Regions from separate parts of the Homo sapiens genome. Here region 2 is linked to region 1. Evidence: promoter capture Hi-C in 16 types of primary human blood cells and fetal thymus (Javierre and others, 2016). All regions are on one chromosome and are shown on one strand. Each heading gives the region's core, a stretch centred on a gene start or on the middle of the fragment in contact. The rest is flanking DNA. Distances are from core to core; before and after follow the strand shown.

Region 1 (6,993 bases), core at 2,434-4,933:
CCACAATGCCCGGCTAATTTTTGTATTTTTAGTAGAGACGGGGTTTCGCCATGCTAGGCTGGTCTCGAACTCCTGACCTCATGATCTGCCTGTCTCAGCCTCCCAAATGCTTGGATTACAGGCTTGAGCCACCACGCCCGGCCATGTGTGTCCTTTTAAGGGAAGTACCATATGTGACTGCTGATGGTAACATTTCTTGTATGCAGCAGGAAAACCTGCAGGCTATACGCAAGGTATGTGAATAAAGACTGTGGATTGAAGGGGGAAAAGTTGATAATACATACCCATGATAAGAATTCATATTTTCTCTTTCTTTGTCTCTTCATACAGAAGCAAGTTCGAGCAGAGAAGGTTAGCAGTTACAGCACTTAAAAGTTTAGGATTGAGGGTTTTTGGTTGGTTTTTTTGTTTTTTCATATTTCACTGTTGCTGAACATTGATTTAGTCTTCCAAAATGGACATCACTAGTAAGTGCACTGAATACTGAAATATGCTGATTGGCAAGCATATATCTGTAGCTAGAATTTTTTTAACCGTAATTCCAGAATTTAAAAAGGTAAGAGATCTGCTTTTTGATAGAGGCCTTTTAAAAAGACTATATAACATTTCTATTTGGCTGTTTATGTGAATGCTCAGGGAATTTGGACATGTGTTTTATACAGAAGTGGCTTTTTATATTTCTTCAAGTGATAAATTAGCATTAGGACATATCAGATAGAACAGGCCAGTTTCCTGATGAGATTGGTAGAGATGTTACGGTAGGTTCATCCTTCCTTTTTCCATGTTATATGTGGAGAAGTGTTAAACTTGCTCAAGCAAATGGGAGTAGGAGATAGGCTGAAAATAGAGATTGCTACACCATTCTATTTTGTTTTCATGCCTGTTTTTTCTCCAATCCTATATGGACATTTGAGAAATGGACCACAAATCTGAGAGGGATAGAGTAAAAAGAGGCATTAATGTATGTACTCACAAGTTAGACCTATTTTGCTGTTAAAATAGGTCTGGTCTTGTTATAGGTCATAGGAATTGTGTAGTTTGAGTTGCTGCGAGAAAGAGTCAAGAACTTAGACTTGAATGGGAAGGCCAACTGGTGAGGGAAGTGGGGTATTATCTACTCAAATGTTCTAAGCTAATACAAAAGAATTACCTGGCAAGCATCCCCCTCTGCCCTTCTTGAAATTCTGAATGAACTTAGAATCAGATCAATGGTGAGACCCAGTTATGTAACTTTCCTTTGAAGTTCTAAAGGATAATTGAAAATAAAGTAGTCTGGCATGTTTAACAGTAAGGAGTGACACTAAAATTTGAATATAACAGTATGTTGCAACTATTTATAATAGACCTATTTATGTTTTGAGAACTAAGTAAAATGCTATGAAAAATTCACATAAAGCACGTAAGCACCAAATGAAAATCATTTCGTGCTTTCAAATTAATGATACTAGGCTTGTAGGATGTCTTAGAATCATGTTTAACAAGAAGTTAAAATATTTGCATTTTGAAATTTTTATGCAGTTTGGCTAAGGAGGAACTTGGAAAATAACATTCATCAGCTTCTACACTGCACTTTTTGTATGTGGACTTTGTAAAGTTTAATGTCCGTTTAACAGTTGCTTGTTTATTTGTGTAAACCTAGCTAGTAAATATTGATGATGTTCAGGGCCACTGACTTGCACAGCCCTTGGAGCACTATTCACACAGAACACAATTCAGAGTTTGTTAAGACATTAACACACTTTGATATCTATTCCAAAAATACTTTTGTTACCACAGGTTCATTGCTGTCATTTAGACAAAATTAATGTACTGTGATATTTTCCTACTCTTAAGATGATGTTGCCCAGCCGAGTACTGTCAGAAATTCAGTTCTGATGTCTGTGTGTGCAAGATATTAATGTGGTCCCTGTAAGAAATACCAGAGTTGGTCATGATTTACTAAGGAGATGTAATATTTTCTTTGACCTGTTAGGAATATAACTTGTGTCTTGATTTGTTGCACATCATATTTTTTGCAACATTAATGAATTTAAATAAATTAATTGGAACGTTCGTCTTTGTCTTTTTATCACATTTTTCTTTCATTATGCTACTAAATTTTTGCTTTGAATTATCCTATAAACCTCTTAAATAATTTCAGACCTTTACACTTGTTTCCCTTTCTATAGTCTAAGTGCTTCTATTCTTTGGGGATTAGAGAGTTCAGCCTGCTTTATTTTAACATCAAAACAATAATGAAACTTTGTGTTTCATAGTTGAGATTTTTTTTTAATTAATGGGGAATCCAAGGATGAAACCATGAGTGGCTTAAAATGAAAACATGGCTTTTTTTTTTTTTTTTTTTTTTTGAGACAGTTTCGCTCTTGTTGCCCAGGCTGGAGTGCAATGGCGCCATCTTGGCTCACCGCAACCTCCGCCTCCCAGGTTCAAGCAATTCTCCTGCCTCCGCCTCCCGAGTAGCTGGGATTACAGGCATGCACCAACACGCCCAGCGAAATTTTTTTTGTATTTTAGTAGAGACGGGGTTTCTCCACGTTGAGGCTGGTCTCGAATTCCTGACCTCAGGTGATTCGCTCACCTCGGCCTCCCAAAGTGCTGGGATTACAGGCATGAGCCACCGCCCCTGGCCGAAAACATGGCTTAAATAAGAAGAACTTGTTTAGTTCATAGACCTGCTCAGAGGTTCCAGCTGATACCACTTGGTGTTTTTTGTGGTTTTGTTGTTGTTGTTTTGCACATACTCTTTAATCACTATTCAGCTATTTTGTAGGATAAACTGCTCTACACATGACTGCTGGGTTTAAGCCAGTTAGTGTACCATGCACCCTGACACCTAAAACAATTTGTGATTTTGCAAACTTGAAATTTATAGTGAAGTATTTATCTTGCATATTAGATGCAAATTTTAAATATAACTTCTCCCAAATTAAAGTTCTTCATGAACTGGTCACAAACTAAAAACTTTGCCTGCAGCCCTGTTTCGAGGGGTAAAGAAGATACCCTGCTTACCCTGCTATAATTTTTTTTTTTTTTTTTTTTTTTGAGACGGAGTTTCGCTCTTGTTTCCCAGGCTGGAGTGCAATGGCGCGATCTCAGCTGACTGCAACCTCCGCCTCCCAGGTACAAGCCATTCTCCTGTCTCAGCCTCCCAAGTAGCTCGAATTACAGGCATGCGCCACCACGCCTGCCTAATTTTTTGTATTTAGTAGAGACAGGATTTCACCATATTATGCTGGTCGCGAACTCCTGACCTCCGGTGATCGACCCGCCTCAGCCTCCCAAAGTGCTGGGATTAAGGCGTGCGCCACCGCGCCCGGCCCCTGCTATAATCTTTTCAGAATTCGTCTGCAAGGTCTTCAACACTGTTACCCTGAACACACTTCCGGCATGAAATATGAATGCCCTACATTTCTTAAATTGTGCATCTAACAATGGAGAAGATTAGTCTCTAAAAATTATAATTCCCTTAGGAACGATTTAGTAAACCTGGTGAATTACTCGAGCAGAGCGCCTGTCCACCACTTTAAGGCTTCAAGCTCCAGCCCGACGCCCCTCCTTCCCTCTCCACGCCCTTCCCTGACAAGGCTTGAGTGGCGGGCGAGAGCAGGGCTGGGCGGGGCCTCCCGTCCCTCGGGCGGGGTGTCACTTCCAGGTTCCGCGAGCACTTCCGGGTCGTCAGCTCAGTTCTGCGGTTTCTGCGGCGGCTGGAGAGGTGGTCGGAGAAGTAGGAACCTCCTGCCGGGCTCGTGGCGGCTTCTGTCCGCTCCGCGGAGGGAAGCGCCTTCCCCACAGGTAGTGGGTTAGGGAGGGCAGGGTTAGGGAGGGAAGCAGGGCCGCGCTCCCTGCCGCCCCCCCGGAGTCGGAGTGCGTTGGTGGGGTAGTCTCTGAGGGCCCTTCGCTCCTGGGATCTGCCCGTTACCGACCGTTGCCGGCAAGGCCCCGCGGCCGGCACCGGAGAAGGGCGGCGAGGCGGCGGTGATGGTCGCGTCCCGTGGCGGGAGGCTCGTCGTTCACGGGGCGCCCACAGAACCCACCTAGGGGAGGTCTTCAGCCCACCACCGTATTTTCAGCCAGGTGAATGTCTTAAAGCATCCACTAGCGCCCTGTGAGTTTTGCCGAATTTCGGAGAGCATTTTTTAAATGTCTCATTCCTGTGCTTTGTAGCTTGTTGTTTGAAGTCTGCCTTCCAACTTTCTTCGTGCGAACTCCGACAAAAGGAACGAATTTTAAACTTGGTGGTTTAATCAAAAAATGCTAGGACGAGTTACTTCCGAATTTGACTTCTAATTTTCTGAACTGCAAAACAAGAAGGGAACAATAAATTTCTGTGGCTGATACCACATCTAAAAGATTAGAACACTTAACAAGGAATTTTTAAAGAATGTAAGAACATTGAAATCAGCACTTTTAACAAACGTTTAACGCAGGGCTATTTTCTAGATAAACTCAAAAATTTGTCAAATGGGACACGATGCACGATTCTGTATTCCTACTCTGTGGAGTTTTTATCTACCTATTGGGACTTCTTGCCCTTTTTAACCCCCTCTCCCCTCCCACACGCATATTATACTTACTGATATTTGCCTTCGTTTACTGAACAGATTTTTTTTTGGCTCCTATTGTGTGCCAGGTACTGTTCTAGACGCCTATTTTACTTAAGTGAACAAAATAAAAAGCTTTGCCCTCATGGAGCTTACATTCTATTAGAGGATGCAGAAAATAAAATATATAATGGTGTTAGAAAGTGATGGTGCCATCAAAAAAAAAAAGAGAAATATAAAGGAGTACGGGAAAGTTCCAGAGTGGAGGTGGGAACTGGTATTTTAAAGATGACGGTGGTCAGTTTGAGCCTCATTTAGTAGGTGTTATTTGAGCAAAGACTTGAAGGAATTAAGAAAATTTGCTAAGTAAATATCAGGAAGAGCATTCAGGCAGATAGGAAAGCCAATACAAATGCTTTTAGGCCTGTCATGTTTGAGGAATAGCAAGGAAGCCAGTGTATCTGGAGAGGGATGAGCAAGAGTTTTGGGGGTGGAGGGACAAGAAGATAAAGTCAAAGAGATCATGGTAGCCGGATCATTGTAAAGGCTGATAGAAGCCATGGGAGATTTTGAATAGAGGAGAGGTATGTTGTAACTGAAGTTTTAGAAGATCACCCTGGCTGTGAGTTGTGATTAGAGTGTAGGGGTGAGTGTAGAAGCAGGGAAATCATTTAGGAGATTTTTGCAGTAATCCAGATGACGAGAGTGGCCCAGGTCAGGGTGATAACCGTAGGGATGGTGAGAAGTGGTTGGATTCTGAATGCATTTTGAAGGTAGGCCTTACAGTATTTGCTAGGAATTGGATATGGAGAGTGAGATAGAGGGAGTGGAGGATGAAATCAAAGGTTTTGCCCAAGCTCGTAGAAGTATGGAGTTCTTTAAGCCACGATGCAAAAGATAACAAATAGAGATGTTGAGTAGGCAGCTAGATTCAGGAGTGAGAAGTTCTATGCTATATGAATTTGGGGATCATCAGCAGTGGTACTTAAACCATGAGAATAAATGTTATCCGTAAGGAATGGGTGTAGACGGAAAGCAGCAGAGGCCTAAGGACTGTGTCCTGTGATATTAAGAGTTTAGCGAAAACGGGATCAACCAGCAAACAGTATTAAGAAGGATGAACTTGTGAGTTAGGACAATCCGAAAAGGGCAGTGTCCCAGAAGCCAAGGTAAGATCCTGTACGAAAGAGGAGGGAGTAATCAGCTGTGTCCAATATTCTGAGTGAGGCTAGAGAATTAGCTTTAGCATTGCCATTGATGACCTTCACCAACCTGTTTCCTTAGAGTGCTAGAGGCAAAAATTAGCTTAAGAGAAAATAGGAAAAAAGGAATTGGGAGACAGTGAATACAGACAAAACTAAGGGATTTTGCTGCAAAGGGGAACTGAGAAATAGGATGTAGCTGGCAGGGGATTTGGGTTGAGGGGTTTTTGTTTTGTTTTACTTTTTAAGGTGGGAGAAGTAGCCACCTATGTGTTTGCTAATGGAAATGATCCGCAGAGAGGGAAAATTTGATGGTGAGGGAGAGAAGTAACAACTGAATTGTCAGAACAATATCCTTGAGTGAATTAGAAGACAATGCCTGATACAAAGGTAGAAGGATTGGATTTAGATAAAAATAGGTATAGAGTTCAACTATAGTGACAGGGAGGGAGAGTATATGGGTACAGGTTGGGCATCCCAAATTCAAAATGCTCCAAAATCCAAAACTTTGAGCACCAACATGACACTGAAAGGAAATGCTCTTTGGAGCATTTCAGAGCTTGAATTTGGGGTACTCAATCACTAAGTATATACGATGCAGATATTCTAAAATCCAAAAGACTTCAGGTCCCAAGCATTTCAGATAAGGAATGTTCAACCTGTATAGCTATTGGTAGGTAGCTGGATGTGGCTGTGAGTCTGGAAGTTATTGCTGCAGTTTCCTCAGTGAAGTGTAATACTTTGTGTCATACTCAGATACATTTCTAATATATTAGCACTTTAACATACTACCAAGTATTTCACTCAACAGATACTTAATAGATACTACATACGTTGTTCTAGTTGGTAAATATGTAAATGAACAGAAGTCCCTGTCTTCAGTGTGTCATCTATTTTAGTAGATGGAGACAGAATAAGCATATATATGTTAGCTTCAGTTATTGGTATGAATGAAAATAAAGCAGTGTGAGGAAGAAGGAAGGTAATTCTTTCTTATAGGTTGATTATAGAAGGCCTTTCTGATGGAGTAATGCTTGACCCAGAGATCTGAATCAAATGAGAGAGTGAACTATGCAGGTATTTGGAAAGAATACTGTCAGCAAAAAGAAGAGCCACCACAAAGGCCCTCAAGCAGGATCATGCTTCCCCTGTCAAAGAACAGCAGGGGACCAGTATGACCAGAGCAGAGTGAGAGGGTGAGTGGGCGAAGATAGGGAAGTAGGCACTGGGGGGCCCAAATCACATAGGCC
Region 2 (6,993 bases), core at 2,740-5,239, 420 kb after region 1:
CAAAGTAACTAGGACCACAGGAGCACACTACCACACCCAGCTAATTATTTTTAATTGTTTTTATTTAAAAATTTTTATTTTTATTTTTATTTATTTATCTATTTATTTTTGAGATGGAGTCTTGCTCTGTCACCGAGGCTGGAGTGCAGTCGTGCAGTCTCAGCTCACTGCAACCTCTGTCCCCTAGGTTCAAGTGATTCTCCTGCCTCGGATCTCTTGAGCAGCTGGGACTACAGGCGCATGCCACCACACCTGGCTAATTTTTTTGTGTTTTTAGTAGAGACGGGGTTTTACCATGTCGGCCAGGCTGCTCTTGCTGCTCTTGAACTCCTGACTTAAGGTGATCCACCCGCCTTGGCCTCCCAAAGTGCTGGGATTATAGGCGTGAGCCACTGCACCCAGCCAATTGTTTTTATTTTTATTTGTTTTATTATTATAGTTGTTGTTTCTTTTGTGTTTTGGGGTTTTGTTTTTGTTCTTTTTAAGAAACGAGATCTTGCTGTTTGCTAAGGCTGGTTCTCCAACTCCCGTGGCCTCCCACATTGCTGAGATTACAGGTGTGAGCCACTGTCTCCTCAAGTCCTGTTTAACTACCCATGGTTCCCTTCATGTGTACCCCACAGAATTTTTGCCTCTTATGTATGGCTCAGGCTTCATCCCAGCCCCTGACATGTATACACACAAGTACACATACACACACGCAACACACCTGGCTGATTTGATTGTCCTTATTGAGATGTAACTAGTTGTGACTTCGTTTAGTAATCTTCTGATCAGGGATAGCTGCCACCCCCAAATCCCTAAAGCCATACCCACATCTCCACTGTGTTATTAATAGCCTTTGTATACTCGACTTCCCTGTAAGACAGTGAGTGAGCTCTTCTCTGACAGGAGCCACATCTCATTCTGGCCTTCGGCTTAACACACTGGGGCAGAGGGGGTTGTTAGACAGTGTGTGTTGCATGAACAAAAGTAGACATCATTTTTGTTTTAAGTGTTTGTCCTTTTTAAACCACAAACAAAAAGTTGGAAAAGTGATATTTCAATTACGTTGATTCAGCCAGTTACAAGGGAACACCAGTTCCTGTGGTACAGAGCCAGGAGAGAGATTTTTAGATCAGAAATGGGGGATGGGGGTGCATTGGTGAGTCGTCCAACAGTGGTAACAGCGGATCCTACTTATTTTAGGGAATATCTCAAAAAATCAAAATAAAAAAGAACTGAAATATTTTTACATTTGCTGAATAAGTTGAAGTGAATAGAAAATACTATTGACTTTTAAGTGAGGAATAACCTTTCTCAGAAAAATAATTATGGTCCTTGGATTATACCATTGTAAATGGCTTTTTTTCCCCAGAACATTCTTTCCATTTCGTTGATATTTTACCGTATGTTTCCATTTCTATAGTTAGTACACAGACCCCCCCCACACACAGACACACACTCTACAATACTTCCTATTTGAATTAATATTTCCTATAAAGTCTGTTATGACTTTGATTTAAAATTGCTTGGCTTGTTCCCAGCTGGCTATACAAGAACTAGGGAGTTTGTTAGAAATTCCTATTCCTAGACTCTGTCCCTGGAGACTGGGATCCAGCAGGTCAGAAGACGGGCCCAGACATGGGCAATTAAAAAGTACTCTGACGATTCTGATAGACTGCCAGATTTGGGAACCACTGGGATATTTTCCTAATTTCTAGAGTATTTGTGTGTGTGTGTCCATTTTATAAGTCAATTAAATTAGGACGGGCTGCCTGGAAGCGTAAACAAAGCAAATTGCTGTACAATAACTGCTGTGAGATGCAAAGTAAATAATTTGGGATATATTATTTTGTCTAAGACCTTCACTTTCTTTTAACTTGGGTTTTAGTGCCGGAGAAGAAACAATATGTTCTCATCCCAAACAGGCCAGCATAATTATGGTTGCATATACTGTAGGTTTCAAGTCATTCTGTAACATTCCATTATTGTACCATATTTTGACCAACTCACCAGCCTCTGATCAATAAAAATTCTTCTTAAGTGTCTGTAAATTGAAACCAAGTAATGAAAATTCCGATCAATGTTTAGTGAGAACTAATTATTTTAAGTCTGCTGGAAAAGATCATAGTTGCTGAGAATGCAGATATCCTATTTTTGGAACTGGTATACTTATTTTGATATATTAAAAGAGCTACTTTCCATTATTATTACTTGCTTTTGTTTCCAACAAAAGAGACAAAATATTTCATGTCTGAATACAGTATTAACCAAAGACACAGTGGGAGGATTACTGGGATTACTGTCCTTTTATAATTCTTTTTTAAATTTAATAAATTCCCCTTTATATATATTATTTTATAATTCTTATAGGGTTTGCTCACGCTTGCTCTCTCTCTCTTTCCCAGCTTGTTCTAGTAAAGTTTAAATGTGACAGTGTAAACTTAAGGAAAATATACATACTTATGGTGATATGTAGGAAGTTGAATAATAATAATGTAATGAAATTGATCAGTGGTGATTATTGTGAGGTGTGATCCCTCCCTTTTCTCTGGAAAAGCTGTTTTAAAAAATCTGAAATACACAAATTTTAAAAAATAAAAAAAATATATATATATATATTTTTTGACACAGTTTCATTCTTGTTGCCCAGGATGGAGTGCAGTGGCACAATCTTGGCTCAATGCAACCTCTGCCTCCCGGGTTCAAGAGATTCTCCTGCCTCAGCCTCCTGAGTAGCTGGGATTACAGGCACCTGCCATCACGCCCAGCTAGTTTTTGTATTTTTAGTAGAGACGGGGATTCACCATGTTGGCCAGGCTGGTCTCGAACTCCTGACCTCAAATGATCCGTCCACCTTGGCCTCCCAAAGTGCTAGGATTACAGGCACGAGCCATTGTACCCGGCATAAAAATCTAAAAAAAATAGAAAATTATGAGAAAGCACATGAAAAGGAAAAAGAGCCAGGTGTCGTGGCTCACACCTGTAATCCCAGCACTTTGGGAGGCCAAGGCAGGCGGATCACCTGGGGTCAGGAGTTGGGACCAGTCTGGCTAACATGGTGAAACCCCGTCTCTACTAAAAATTAAAAAATTAGCTAGGCATGGTGGTGCACACCTGTAATCCCAGATACTTGGGAGGCTGAGGCAGGAGAATCATTTGAACCTAGGAGGTAGAGATTGCAGTGAGCCAAGATTGTGCCACTGCACTCCAGCCTGGGTGACAAAGTGAGACTCCATTTCAAAAAAACCATTCCTATACCAGCCTCCTAACAAGTAAGGAATATTTCTTTTTCCTTGTCAATTTGTTTTTGCCCATACATTATTTTCACATAGTTGTAAACTTGTTATAAATATAGTATCTTCTATTCACATTACCACTTAACTTAGGCTGCATTATCTTTATGTTGCTACATACTCTTTGTAAGTACTTCAAATGCCTGTGCAGTATTATATTGGGTGGTTGTGCCATTGTAAGCTTGGACTTTCCAATATTCTTGAATGTTTACATTGTTTACAACTTCTAAAATGGAGTTTCATTGTTGCCAAACCGTGTAATTCCAATGAGAGAGTGTGTGTGTTGACCCTGGATCTAGTAAATACATCATCTGAGTATGTCAACCATTTGAAAAGATAATTTCCCCATGGAGTTGAATTTGCCCGACCTAGTTGCTGCCTGTGAGTAAGCATGTCCTCTGGAAGAGTGTGACACCTCGTCCCAGGCTTGCTGGTTTTCTACTTGCTACTGTAGCTTACGAAATTTCAGTTTGGTTTTCTTATTCATGTGACCAGGAAGCCAGGAGCATAGCACTAGGATGGTGAGTGACTTGCATAGGTGGGTTCAGACTTTTGCAGGTCATGAGCTCTGAACAGAGGATGGTTCCCGCCTCCCCATAATTTCTTTAAAACCGTATTATTAGTTCAAGGAAATTCAGCAAAGTTCTGAGTTTCGCTATATGGCCAGCTCAATTCTCTGTTCATTTGTTTCTTTTGTTTTGTTTTGAAATGTAAAATTATTTCAAATTTCAGTTTCCTTTTGGGAATAGGAGTGTCACCTTGCTTGGTTGTTCCCCAAGCAAATGTTTTCTCTTTCCTTGAGTAACTCAGCAATCGATAACAATTAATTTGGGCTGGATATTCATAGAAGAACATTTGCTCTGCGCCCTAAAATTTTTTATCGCGAAGCGCGAACAAAAATATTGTCCTATGAACTTGTAGCAGTCTGCATTTTTCATACTAACTCCCACCATCATTTTATATGATATGGGGTTCTTTAATTCTATCCTGGTAACACAAAGGGTACCAATAGAAAGATGAAAAATCTGACTGACTTAAGCATGTTTTGAATTGAGGTCATTATCAATTCAGGGGGATTTTGTAGGAAGAATGGGGATTTTGAAGAGCAGACTATATATTATTAACAAAAGGCTCTCCCCATGCAGGAAGGCTACCCAGCGGAAGGTGGCCTTTGTTACTCCGGATGTGATTAATATTGCTTCAAGGTTTAATTTTAGAACTTCTAAAATAAGGAAGCTTGCATCAATTCAAGGCACATGGTTTGAAACCTCAGAGTGCCCACTTTTTCTTTTCTTTTTTTAAATTACAAAAATAGCATATGCATTATAAAATGTTTGAAAACTAATGAATTAAAACAAGTTTCTCTAGTCTCTGGCTTGACCAAAGCCTTTGTTAATATTTTGTGGTAGTTCCAGTCTTTTTTTTAAGAAAAAAAAATTGTAATCATGTTTTGTATATAACTTGAATGACTTATTTCACTTAACATGATTTCATTTGCTTGTTTCCTGTGTTTACAGTCTTCATGTCAGTTGTAATTTATGTAGAATTCCACCCTTGTGATACTCCATAATTTTCCTAATCATATCCCCCATTATTGGGCATGTAAAATGCTTAATGGTCAGTGGTGTGCACAGTGGTAATTATCCACACCATGTTAATCCGGCTCACACGGGTCACATGGGCGACCTAATCCTGCTGTAACTTGCCTTTCTCTACTGGTATTGTACTTAAAAAAAAAAATTCTTTTCTGCCTGTTTTTTTTGTTTTTTTGTTTGTTTGTTTGTTTTGTGTGATGGGGGAGACAAGGAAGGGAGCTGGTCGCAATCCACTTCTCAGGTGGATTCTTTGTCTGTCTTTCTTTAGTGGTGAAAGTGGTGCTGGAAAAACAGTGGCTGCCAAATATATCATGAGCTACATCTCCAGAGTGTCTGGAGGAGGGACCAAAGTCCAGGTGAGTGGGCAGTGGCCCATTATGATACCTTATGTTATGGGAAATGTAAGAGGCTCCATTTGCTGTTAGAAAAGAATTTTTCTTCCACAGAAAAGACACTGGTTCTTCTATAACTGTGAAACTTGAAATCTGGAATGGAAAGGAATAGCATATGTATGTGTGTTTGTGTGTGTGTGTGTGTGTGTGTGTGTGTGTGTGTGTGTGTGTGTGTGTGTATATATTTTTTTTTTTTCTTTTTTGAGACAGAGTCTTGCTCTGTTGCCCAGGCTGGAGTAGTGCAGTGGCGCGATCTCGGCTCACCACAACCTCTGCCTCCCGGGTTCAAGAGATTCTCCTGCCTCAGCCTCCTGAGTAGCTGGGATTACAGGTGTGCCCCACCATGCCCAGCTAATTTTTGTATTTTTAGTAGAGACGGGGGTTTCACTATGTTGGCCAGTCTGGTCTCGAACTCCTGACCTCAGGTGATCTGCCCTCCTCGGCCTCCCAAAGTGCTGGGATTAAGGAATAGCATATTTTAAGGTAGATGTGCCTAATATATAATGAACTCCTACAAATCAATAAAAAGATCAGCAGCCCAAAAGGAAAATAAACAAAGGACATGAAAGACAACTCATAGAAAAGGAAATATAAATTACTCACAAAACATGAAAGTATGTTCACCATCATGATAAGAAGAAAAATGCAAATTAAAACTGCATTAGAAAACTATTTTTTGCCTATCAGATTGGCCAGAATCTTACCATGTTTTAAACGCTTGATTGGTAGGAAGTAGGGACACAGTTGTTCTCATACATTGCTGGTAGGAGATGAACTAGTACATTTTAATGAAGAACATTTCAGCAAAATCTGTTAAACTTACACATGTATGCCATTCGACTCAGCAGTTCTGCTGAAAAGAATTTATTCTTTAGATATGCTGAAATGTATACAAAATAATACATGTATAAAGTTATTTCTGTCAATTTTGGTAATGCAAAAGACTGGAAACAACTTAAGTGTTCATCACTAGGCAACTGGTGAAATAATTTGTGGTTCTTTATATAATAGAATATTATACAGCAATAAAAATGAGGCTTCATGTACCGATTGTACTGATAGAGAATGGTCTCCAAGATGTATCATTAATTACAAAAGACAAGGTTCAGAACATTGTTTGTAATATATGCTGCCATTTGAGGGATCAAAAGAGAGTGCACATTTGTATTTGTTTGGGTATGTTATCACATATCCCTCGAAGTATACACAAGAAACTGTCAACAATGGTTGTCTTGAGGGAGGGGAGCTGGGAGGTTGGGAGAAGGGCCTACCCTTCCTGTATACCCTTTAGAAACTTGCATGGTTTGAGCTATGTGAACCACTTGCCAATTCAAGAAACTTATAAAAATTTTAAAGGACGTAGACAGAGAAAGGATTTAAGAGAAGGAAAAAAGAGAGATTAAAGAGTGTAAAGGAGTGTTGGGAAAGAGAAAAGATCCAGAGAATGAGGATACTCAAGAGGTGAAAATTAAAATCAGCATTGGCAGGAATGAGTAAAGCCTGCTCCCCAGAGCCATGGATGAGGGTGATGGCGAGCTAAGGTCCATAAGGGGCAGCCCAAGCTTGGCGCTCATCACCAGTATGCACCGCTGGTGACAGAATTCCTTCCAAAGATTAGTTTTTTAAATCAGAATTATGTAATGTTATTGCCATGGTCAGCTGTAGACTTTCAAAAGACACATAAAATTCTCTTTATTGTGGTTCCCTTTTTTTTTTTTTTTTTTTTGA

What was found. The method cuts DNA at HindIII sites, captures the fragments that hold promoters and counts their contacts. A CHiCAGO score of 5 or more calls a contact.
Region 2: a fragment that was not itself captured here is called in contact with the fragment with the promoter of GTF2A2 in region 1 in 1 of 17 cell types (naive B cells); the score reaches 5.2 in naive B cells.

The regions. Positions count from the first base shown.
Region 1 is chr15:59,654,205-59,661,197 of GRCh38, reverse strand. GTF2A2 (general transcription factor IIA subunit 2) reads left to right here and starts at 3,683. Exons shown (of 5, transcript NM_004492.3): 1 at 3,683-3,792. It overlaps BNIP2 (BCL2 interacting protein 2), which reads left to right. Exons shown (of 10, transcript NM_004330.4): 10 at 1-2,052. RefSeq lists an enhancer at 3,647-3,876. The HindIII fragment of the contact is 4,994 bases long and covers 1-4,678 here.
Region 2 is chr15:59,234,821-59,241,813 of GRCh38, reverse strand. It overlaps MYO1E (myosin IE), which reads left to right. Exons shown (of 28, transcript NM_004998.4): 5 at 5,142-5,229. Among named protein-coding and RNA genes, the nearest start is that of LDHAL6B, 31 kb to the right of the region's middle. The HindIII fragment of the contact is 1,055 bases long and covers 3,462-4,516 here.